Linked DNA regions of Homo sapiens: region 2 is linked to region 1. The links are contacts of gene promoters, found by promoter capture Hi-C in human tissues and cell types (Jung and others, 2019). All regions are on one chromosome and are shown on one strand. Each heading gives the region's core, a stretch centred on a gene start or on the middle of the fragment in contact. The rest is flanking DNA. Distances are from core to core; before and after follow the strand shown.

Evidence for each region. Contacts are between HindIII fragments. The study calls those that stand out against the background at their distance.
Region 2: a fragment that was not itself captured here is called in contact with the fragment with the promoter of MRGPRE in region 1 in 1 of the 25 tissues and cell types used here (sigmoid colon).

The regions. Positions count from the first base shown.
Region 1 is chr11:3,230,249-3,235,808 of GRCh38, reverse strand. It overlaps MRGPRE (MAS related GPR family member E), which reads left to right and starts at 3,392. Exons shown (of 2, transcript NM_001039165.4): 1 at 3,392-3,668. The HindIII fragment of the contact is 8,659 bases long and covers 1-5,560 here.
Region 2 is chr11:4,898,365-4,903,924 of GRCh38, reverse strand. All of the region lies in intron 2 of MMP26 (matrix metallopeptidase 26), which reads right to left. OR51A7 (olfactory receptor family 51 subfamily A member 7) reads right to left here and starts at 142. Exons shown (of 2, transcript NM_001004749.2): 1 at 81-142. The HindIII fragment of the contact is 6,232 bases long and covers 1-5,560 here.

The DNA.
Region 1 (5,560 bases), core at 2,143-4,642:
CCAGTCTTACCTGTGTTGTTTTCAACCTTCTCCTGATTTGGCATTTAACCTGCTGAGCCCCTTTGCCTCTTCTGGCCTGTGTTGCAGTCCGGAAGCCACCTCCAGACAGAAAGTTTGGGTGAGCATAGGGCGTGCCCATCAGCTTCCATTTTCTTGGGACCACAGTCCTGCTCGGCCTGTTGTCTAAATTCACAAACCGTGTTTTGGTTTTTTAGATTTTTATAATGGGAGGGTGATTCCAGCCCCTATTGCCCCTTTAGAACCAGAAGTAGAAGTCGTCATCCTCTTTCTTGAAGCTCCAATCCTGTCACATGCCACAGTGCTCCTGGTCCCCATGAATGTTATGATGATCAAGTCCAATAGGCAAATGGTCCCCCAAGGCACTGACTTCAACATAACCCATCACAAGTGCTTGTTTGATTGATGATGAGCCACAGAGTGGCATGGATCACCAGTGTCACTGACCAGAAACTCATCACGACAGTCAAGGCCAAGGACATGACCAAACCAAGCCTAAATTACCATGTTTCCCCTAGGACCTTTCAGTACCAGCAGGGACACAGTCAGTAGGCAGAAGCTACCTATAATTTTGAAGGGATGATCTTAAAGAATTGTTCACTAGAGACTGAAAAACCAAACACGTACAAAGGGAACACTAAGGTATTAGAGAAGAAACAACTGCAAAAAGAGCCGCCACCCCGGGCACGGGGAACAAAGGAAGGAAGTTAAAACTATTGAAATTTAGGACCAGTGGGGACGACTAGAGTGTAATTCAGGCCCCTGAGGGGGCTCCCAGCCAGTTAGTGGCCAGTGTCTCCAACAGGAAACAATGGGTCTGGTTTTTCAAGTGCTGGGAAAACTGCAGAAGTCCACTGCTGCTACAAGGTGGAGAAAGTTGCTGCGGGCCAGGCATGGTGGCTCACAGCTATAATCCCAGCACCTTCGGAGGCCAAGGCAGGAGGATTGCTTGAGATCAGGAACTAGAGACAAGCCTAGGCAATGTATCGAGACCCTATCTCTATAAAGTTAAAAATTTAAAAATTAGCCAGACAAGCCTCTGGTAGCCTGGCACTTGGTGCATGCCTGAAGTCCCAGCTACTCAGGAAGCTGAGGAAAAAATGCTTCAGCTTGCAAGTTGGAGGCTGCAGTGAGCTGTGATCATGCCACTGCACCTCAGCCTGGCCAACAGAGTGGCATTCTGTCTCAAAAAGAGAGAGAGAGAGAGTTGCTGGGGCAACTCTGACAGGGAGTGAAAGTGAAGCTCGAAAACATAAAGGAAGATGGACTAATTGGAAAGAGTCAGACAATTGGAGGGGTAGGGGAACTGGAAGGAGTGGGACAATAGGAGGGGTGGGACAATTGGAAGAGTGGGACAGTTGGAAGGGTGGGACAACTAGAATGGTAGGACAATTAAAAAGGTAGAACAATTGGAAGGAGTGGGACAATTGGGAGGGTTGGACAATTGGAACGGTGAGACAATTGGAAGGGTGGGACAATTGAAAGAGTGGGACAATTAAAACTGTGGGGAAATTGGAAGGGTGGGACAATTGGAAGAGTGAGGCAATTGGAAGGCAGTACAATTGATAGGAGTGGGACAACTGGAAGGAGTGGGACAACTGGAAGGTGAGACCATTGGAAAGGTGGATCAATTGGAAGGTAAGACCATTGGAAAGGTGGGTCAATTGAAAGAGGGGGACAATTGCAAGGGAAGGGCAATTTAAAAAGTGGGACCATTGGAAAGAATGGGGCAATTGGAAGGAGGGGGACAACTAAAAGAGTGGGATAATTAAAAGGATGAGGCAATTGGAAGGCTGGGACAATTGGAAAGAGTGGGAAAATTGGAAGGGTGGGACAGTTGGAAGGCTAATGCAATTGGAAGGTGGGATAATTGGAGGGTGGGACAACTGGAAGGAGTGGGACAAATGGAAGAGTGGGACAATTGGAAGGAGTGGGACAAATGGAAGAGTGGGACAATTGGAAGGAGTGGGACAATTGGAAGAGTGGGACAATTGGAAGGAGTGGGACAAATGGAAGAGTGGGACAATTGGAAGGAGTGGGACAAATGGAAGAGTGGGACAATTGGAAGGAGTGGGACAATTGGAAGAGTGGGACAATTGGAAGGAGTGGGACAAATGGAAGAGTGGGACAAATGGAAGAGTGGGACAGTTGGAAGGAGTGGGACAATTGGAAGGGTCGGGCATTTGGAAGGGTGGGACAGCTTTAAGGTGTAAGACAAGTGGAAGGCATGGAACTTATGAAAGGGTGGGATGGACAATTGAAAGGAGTGGCACTATTGGAACTGTGGGACAACTGGAGGGAGTGTGGCACTTAGAAGGGTGAGATATTTGGAACGTGTGGGGCGATTGGGAGCACTTCCCCCACACCCCTGGGCCATCCTTGAGTGACCACCCACTGGTAGGGCCTCCCAGAGCGGTGGCAGAGCCCAGGCATGGTTTACAGAGCCTCGGGCACCTGGCAGCTCGGATCCTGGTTTAGGAAGGGAGGATTTGAAGCTGAGACACAACTCAGCAAGCGGCACTGCTGCCTGTCAGATACCAGCCCCGCATGGACGTCAGACACCAGCGCGACACATTCATCAGACACCAGCATTGCACAGACGCCAGACGACCTGTGTGCGGCCCCTCCGTTTTGGGGATGGAGGATGCCGGTGCCCTGGGGGATGCCTGCTGATGTAGTGACAGGTCAAAGGCCACGTGCGGGAAACTTGCTCTCACTTGGTCCGCAAGAGGAGAGGTCAGGCGGACTGCGCAGAGTGGGAAACGCTCCGGAGCAAATCCGTGCTGTTTCTGCACTCTTCTCTACCTCGGAGATTTTTCTAAAGACAAAGATGAGAAAAGAGTTGCTAGGGCCTGGACTCGGGGAGGAACAGAGGCCAAAAAATGACCTTGTTTTCCTTCTCTTGGCACGTCAATTGCGATCTCCCTTAAGGCAGGGCACTGGAAGGAAAGGCACGGTCTGAAACGGGACTTGAAATCACTGAGTTCACGAGGTCTCCCGGAGCCTGACGCTGCTGTATGTGTTTGATTCTCCTCGGCCGGGGACCGCGCGGCAGCTTCTTGACACCGGCCATCTACTCTGTGCCTGCGAACGAGGCAGGAGGGACGGCCTCACGCACATCCCCGCTCCTCCCCGCGGTCCCACACTGCCTGGAGAGCTGGGGCCGGCAGCCTGTGCTCTGCGGAGAGAAAAACACATTTTTGCTGCAAGGACAAGTTCCGCCGGTAGCCCGGCTCTCAGCCGGCCCCTCCGAGGCACAGATGGAAAGAAGTGGTCCCTAAAGGGCCCTACAGGGCTTGGTGTCTCTGAGCCAGGAGTGCCAGTGAAGTCACAGCTTGGCTGGGCTCCACCCAGAGATCTCGTGGTTTCCTCTGCCTGCCAGGCCTGCCTGGAAGGCTGCAGGGAGGTTCAGGGTTTCTCTTGCTGTCCACACCTGGGCGAGAGCTGAGCGGAAGAGAAGGGGTCCTCAGAGAGACACCTTCCTGACCGGCCCCATTCCAGCTGGATGCCATGTGACTCGGAGGAGCTGGTGGACACTGAACAGGAGCCGCCCAGAGGCTCTGGGGACTGGAGCCCTCGGCCGCGGCCAGGATAGATCCAAGGCCCAGGGTCAGAGCAGGCAGGGCTCGGCCAGTCCTCTGCCCCAAACGGTGAGTAGCGCAGGTGGCTGGATCAGGGTGGGTCTCTGGGGCCGGCCCAGGCGCTCGGCATTTTCTGGGCTCTTTTGCTGGCCAGATGGTGGCAGGGGTGGGGCGTGGGCAACAGCAGATGCTATCAACAGGGAGCTCTCCAGGCTGCAGCCTCCGCCCTCTGACGGGCCGCACCACCTGGTCCGCAGCCAGCCCTGGGCTGAGTCTGGAAGAGGACGATAGCTTGGGTGATGGCTCCCCAACCCCCCACCCCCGGTGGCTCTGTCTCCTGTCTGCCTTGCTTCCTCCATGATCTAGAGTGTTCCCTGCAGGTGCAGACTCTCAAGGGGAGTCATGGGGGCAGCCGGGGATAGGCCCTCTCCTCCCTGCCACACCTGGGTGCTCAGCCTCAGGGCTTCTCAGTATTGGCTGTCTGGGCGGGACACAGAGCCACTCCTGGACCACCCAGGGATGGGGAATGCTGTGCCTCCCTCCTCTTCTGTTCCATCGTCCTTCCCCGCCTCCTCCCCTCCTTCTCCTCCCCCTCCTCCTCCTCCCTCCTGTTCTCTTCCATCGTCCTCCCCCGCCTCCTCCCCTCCTTCTCCTCCCTCTCCTCTTCCTCCTGCTCACCAAGGATGCAACAAACTCCTCTACTCCCCACAGTCCTGTAACCCAACTGTGGCGACCCTTCCTACAGAGCTCTGCCTCCCTCCCGAGCCCCCAGTGGGGCACATGGTCCCACAGGGAGACCTCCTCCAGGGTCACAGCAGAGAGGGGGCAGCAGCAGGGTCTGGCTGAGCTCCGTGGCTCTAACCCCTTGTCCCCCTGTTCTCCTCCCTGTTTCCTTCTCTGTCCCCCATCTCTTCATGCCTCTCCCCTTCCTGCACTCTCCCCTCTCCCTCTATGTCCATCGCTTCCCTGCCATGCTCTCTCCCTGGGGCCCACCCATGAGGCCCGTGTCCTCCTCAGCCATGCAGGAGGTGAGATAGGAGAGGGACCATGGCCCTTGGTGGGCCACAGGCTGGAGAAACCCCACCTGTTGCTTTGGGGCTGGAGCTTGCTGGTAGATCCCGGAGATAGCTCCGTCCATGGGTGGACGGGACTTGTGCCTGGGAGGGGGTCCACCATCAACAGACTTAAGACCTCCCAAAACTCATCTCTGCCTCCCTCTGGGCCTGAGGGTTGGTGACCCCCCCAAGCTATCCTGAGTAGGAGAGCATCTGTCCCCCTCCCCACATCTCCCCACCTGCCATGGCAGTGATGCCCCGTCTGCCCCACTCAGGGTGTCCTCCTGATGATGCTGGCCCAGGTGGGGCTCCCTCCACCACCACCTCACCTCCCACCCATGGTCTGCCTTCCCGGGGCCTTGGGTGCTAGGATGGAGCACAGGGACAGGAGGAAGAGCCCTATATCTCCAACCAGGCTTGACTCCACCCGCAGGAGATTCAGACTGGACCACGGGCAGGACTCAGCTTCCTGAGGTGCTGGGACTGGGGCCTCCTCTCCACTGAGCCCCCCACCCCCATGCCCACCCCTGAGGCGGGGACAACCTCAGGCTGTCATTTCACCCCAGTCAAACAAAAGACCACAGAGCTGAGGGTGTAAGCCGAGGGAGATGACCAGCACCTCACGGGGTGGCTGGCACCTCTGTGCTCAGCGATAGCCCCGCCCCGGGCCACCTCTCCCCAGCATCCCAGCACCGCAGCGTCCCCCTGCATGGTCTCGGGTGCTCCTATCACTGGAGGGAGACAGCAGGGGTTCTGAGCACAACCTTGAGGTGGGAAGAAGCCGCTAAGACCAGCTATGGGGGTTTCTGCTTGTACCCCCACCCTCCTCACCCCAAACCCCAGCCCTCCCAGGACACAGGAGGACCAGCCACCACCAAGGTGGGAGGGGCACCTGGTGTCGGCCCC
Region 2 (5,560 bases), core at 1,218-3,717, 1.7 Mb before region 1:
CTTCATGTATGCACACACACTGAAACCACTTACTCTTCCTCCCCATAGACATGTATTCAGATATAAGCAGTTTAACAAACCTTAGATTTAGGTTTCCAAAAGGATTTATAGCTCCTTAACCTTACCAGAACCAGATGCTCAGTAAGTTCCTGAAGGATAAAAACAAGAATTCTCCACTTTCACTTCCACTTTATCTAGAGGTACCTACTTCTCTTTTCCTCAGGTGACTAGACCCTTGAGAGTAATCAAGCTTACACAGAAAGGGTTAGGCCTGGGGCTGGTACATTACTTTGTATTCATTGTACCTTAACAGAAACTAGAGGCAAATTGTGAGACAAACTACAGGGAGACTACTCATCTGAAAGGTAAACATTTGAAGTTGAAGAAGCTTGACACATGGGATTTGTAGAGGTTGGAAAATATAGTTAAAATAACATGTTATCTATAATCAAAACACTTTATGTCCAATTCTAAGTCAAACCACTTAAACGTTCTTCATCTTAGCTTAATCATCCACAAAATGGAGATAGTAATCTATAAGTATCAAATATTTAGAAAAGCACTTTACAAACTATAAAATGGTTTACCAGTCATTCCACTTATTTGTATGATCCATTTTTGGCAAAATATTAACATTGAAATAGACATAGCCTGTCGTACTCTGTTAGATTTTTAAAGCAGTGTCTCAAAACTACATGCCTTCCACATTATATTGCATTCACTAGAACCGTCCGAGGAGTATCCTGCGTTTTATTCACATATTTCTATTTTATATGTCAGTTCCATCATGGTTTAAATTAAATAATAATTATTTAAGGCTATGAAACAATATAAAAATGTGAAGACAATTTAAGTAAAAATGTATAAAATAAGGATATATATATAACTGTTTTAAGTATTTCTTAAAGCATATTTCTAAGTTAAAAAGAAAAACTTTGGTTAAAATAATGGAAAGCCTTACATTAATAATAAAATAATTTTAATTAATACAATTTAATGGAATAATAATATAAAAGACACAACATGGCTCAAATACAAAATACATATATCTGTGAATAAGAAATGAATAGAAATTTAAAACAATGAGCAGGGATAAGCCCACTCATTGCTAGTTCCCATGTCTGGAGAAGACGATCAACTCCCATAAGATAAATGAGATTACATATTCTCCATGTTAAGTTATCTGAAGCAAATAGACTTATTAAATGTCATTGGGCTATTCTAGCAGATGCATTTGATACCCACCTTATTATCTTGGGACTTAACATTTTATTATAAGTTGCTAATTGGAAGAAAATATTTGCAAAAGACACAAGAATTCTTGAAACTCAATAAGAAAACAAACAACACAACTAAAAAGTGTGTCAAACAATAGCAAAGACATGAAACCAACCCAGGTGCCAACAGAAGGTTGGATAAAGAAAATGTGATACATGTACACCAGGGAATACTACACAGCCACAAAAAAAGAACAAAATCGTGTCCTCTGGAGCAACATGGATGCATCTGGAAGCCATTATCCTGAGCAAATTAACACAGCAACAGAAAACCAGATACTGTGTTCTTACTTGTAAGTGAGAAAAGATTCTAGAAAACAGATTGCCAATAAGAAATTCTAGAGTTGGATTCATCACTGTCTGCATCACAATAGGAACCACATCACTGGTTGCAGATGAAATGTTGATGGTCCCTGACATGCTGTAGCAAGTTATTGTTAAAATTTTCATCTGAAGTGAACTGTAATAGTACCCAGAGGAAAGGTAACTCACAAGATTTATTTATAAATAGAGCATTCTCTGTAAACTGGATTCTCTTACTGGCTACTTTTGTGTGTGTAACGAAAAGGGTCATGGAGGACTACTGTGGACTCCAATCTCAACCAAGTAGAAACATCAGTTTAAAGTTTTATGTCAGGTGCAGTGTTTTTACCAGGGAAGATTAAGATTAACCTGGATTCGATTATCAAGTATGTAGTATTTATGTGGCAAATATATTCTCTTCCATCTTCTATAATAAATCTATAATTTGAAAATACTTATTTTCTTTGGATATTTTGCATAATATTTTATTGACCCACTATATCAATGACAATATATTAATCAGGTAGACGAGCATGAAATGCAAGTATATTGGCATTCTTGTCAAAACACAGTGCTCTTTAGGTGGGAAAGGATAGAGATAAACACCCATACAAAAAAGTAGGAATCTTAAACATTAGAGAAGTTTTTAGGGATCCTGCGGTATAGGAAAAATTGCGACAGCCTCTCTCAGTTAATAGACAAACTAAAGCATTTTTTATCTTTTACCACCAAGAAGAAAGTACCACATGTAGTGACCTCCTGAAACCCCGGAGGCAGCATATGCCACACTTTGAGTGCTAATTCTACTCACATAACAGAAAGACGTATGCCCATGCTAAGACACAAGTAAGACCATCAAGCACAACTGAAAGAGCACAAAGAGGGGGCCGGGCATGGTGGCTCACACCTGTAATCCCAGCACTTTGGGAGGCCGAGGCAGGCGGATCACAAGGTCAGGAGATTGAGACCATCCCGGCAAACACTGTGAAACCCCGTCTCTACTAAAAATACAAAAAAATTAGCCAGGTGTGGTGGCAGGCACCTGTAGTCTCAGCTACTCAGGAGGCTGAGGCAGGAGAATGGCATGAACCCCGGGGGGCAGAGCTTGCAGTGAGCGGAGATCACGCCACTGCACTCCAGACTGGGCGACAGAGTGAGACTCCGTCTCAAAAAAAAAAAAAAAAAAAAAAAAAAAGCACAAAGAGGTGATGCGAAGTCCACTGATGTTAGTGCACTACTATTGCAATGTGGTGCACTTTCCCTAAGCTTACACTTGTAGCTACGTGGATGATCCCTTATGACCAGCTGGTGGGGGATGAAAGCCAAGTTAGTTCATAAATGAGTAAAGTTGGTATGCCAAAAATGAACTGTAGATGTGTTACTGATCCATTAAGGAGTGACTTTGAAAGATAGTACTTAGGAGAAATACATCCCACGGACAAATCAGCTGATGGACTCACTCATCCTCTTTGTATAAAAAAGAGGTGGTTCTATGTAAGAATACACAAAAATTCAACTTATTGTTAATGGTGGGTAACTTGGCTAATTGACCAGGCTGTTGGAAGGAGAAAGACTGGAATACTAGTGACAAAGAGGCAGAGGGATGAAGTGGCATGTGGATGGTTCTAGAAGTTAGAACAAAGTTTGAAGATCTTTATATAAAAGATCAATGTTCATCATAGTCTATACATAATGGAAAAGAACCTAAGCTATAAAGAACACTGAGTGGACCTGACAATTTATATCAGCTAGATTCTGATATAAGCAACCTCAGTGGTGGCATAATTGGCTCCTAATTGAAGTAGCTATAGTGGCAGGATGAAAACTGCATAAACACAAAGCATAGTTTCCCACTCAACAAGGCTGATAAAACTTCTCTTTCTACTAAATATTAACCTGGCAATGATAGAAAACAATGTTAACTGCCCAATGTAGCATCACTTCTTGAGTAGAAAATGGCCACTTAATGGAAGATTATTCTACCCCACAAAAGGCAGCAAATGAACTTGATAGAAATTGACACATATGATGGGTGTAGGTTTGTTTTATTTTCTTGAAGAGTCATAGCCAAACCTAGTATCTCAGGGCTTACAAAGGGTTTGATCCACCAGCATAGGACATTATGTTATATCACTTCATGAAAAGGGACACATTTTAGAATACTTGCAACAGTAGACACACAACCATGCTTGTATCATGGGCTACACCACTCAAAAGCTTCCAATCTGGTACAGAAATAGAACAGGTAGAGTTGAGTCTCCACCTTAGAGACGACATTAGTGAGGATGAGACAACATACCCCAGATGCGTCATGTACAACACACCAACAATCATTATACATAGCTTTGACTGCAATGATTAGAATAAATATATTTGGGAACAAAAGAGCTGAAATTAAGAGTAGTCCCACTTACCATCATTTTTGGTGACCTACTTGGAAAATTTGTGTTTCCTATTTCTGCAATTTATGTTCTGTTGAGCTAAAGGTCCTCATTTTCAGAGTGGGAGACATTGTGAGGATCTTTTAATTAATTTAAAAATAAAATAAATAAAATTTATGTTAAGCTCTTGCCTAATAACTTTGATCTTCTCTAAGCTCAAAAACAAGCTGGCAAGGAAAGAGGTCATTAGCCTGATGGGGTAATTAATTAATCCTTGATCATCAGGAAAAGATAGGGCTTCTAATAAACAATGAAGGAATGGAAGAATATGTTCAGTACCCAGATAGCTGACTGGTTGTCTCTTGGTACCATCCTGGCAAATTTTGATGATAAATTAGCAAGTGAAATAGCCTTAGCCTGAAAAGGTCATTCTATAGAGACATTTTTACCCTTTGAAAAAAGGATCTGGTTGCTCTACCATGAAAGAAACCTATGCAATAAATGTTGTAGTCTTTACTAAAGAAGAATTTAGAATGGATTATAGAGATGGCAGATGATAAGATCAGTTGAGGTTTCAAGAACAGCTTAAGTGATGTATGTTGTAGTTCGTTCACAAACTTTTCATGATCGTGTCTTCTTCTTGGGCAAATAGACAACACAAACATGAGAAGAGCTATTCCCAAATGAAGCAGTTGAATTTGAGTAATACAAGAGTAGACTGCAATAAATTATGCAGTGAATTTCTCTGTCAGCCTTTCTTCGGAACTAAGACATCAGCTCCCAGATTCCTGAATTTGGGGCTGCTATGGGAATACAGATAAGTCCTTTCCTGGAATTATTCTAATCAAAATGAACTTGTCTCATCCAGTTTATAACCCTTGTTGGTGAGCAGGCCACATTCAGTTACTGGTTAATGCAAGGGTACAGAGACTTTGCTTCAATTTAGGATAATCCTGAAGGGTTGTTCCAGTTCCAGATTTTTCTGTAGCACTGACAGAGGCCTCAATTGCTACTGCCTTGACTGTCAAATTATCTTTCTAACTAATAAAGCTTCCTTCACATTCTTACAGTTGTTTTTCTTGAAAGAACACACACACACACACACACACACACACACACACACACACACACAGAGAGAGAGAGAGAGAGAGAGATTTCTTAAATTTCTAATAAACTCTAATTTAAAGAGTAGATCCAGTGACTCCTGGAATAGATAGGTTTGGATTTCTTCATATGGAGGAGGTAAGTAAATGTCCCCTATATATTAAAAAACATACCTATGGACACTTTTGAGGAAGATAAATAATGCTAACAATAAAAATATTCTTTTAACATTATTTTTGTTACTATAACCCAGAGATTCAACATTCCTCATTAGAACGTGGAAAGATATTAAATACATTAATCCCCATAGAAACAATGAGAAAGTCCTGAAAAGAACAATTTTCTGCAGGACAGTAAAAGAATAGTAGGTACAAGAAAGACTTAAACTGAAACTCAGAGGAATGAGCCCTTTATGTTTGAGAAGAGAGCCACAGCAAACAACCCCAAACAGGATAAACACAAAGAAATTAACACATAGACACATTATAGTCAAAT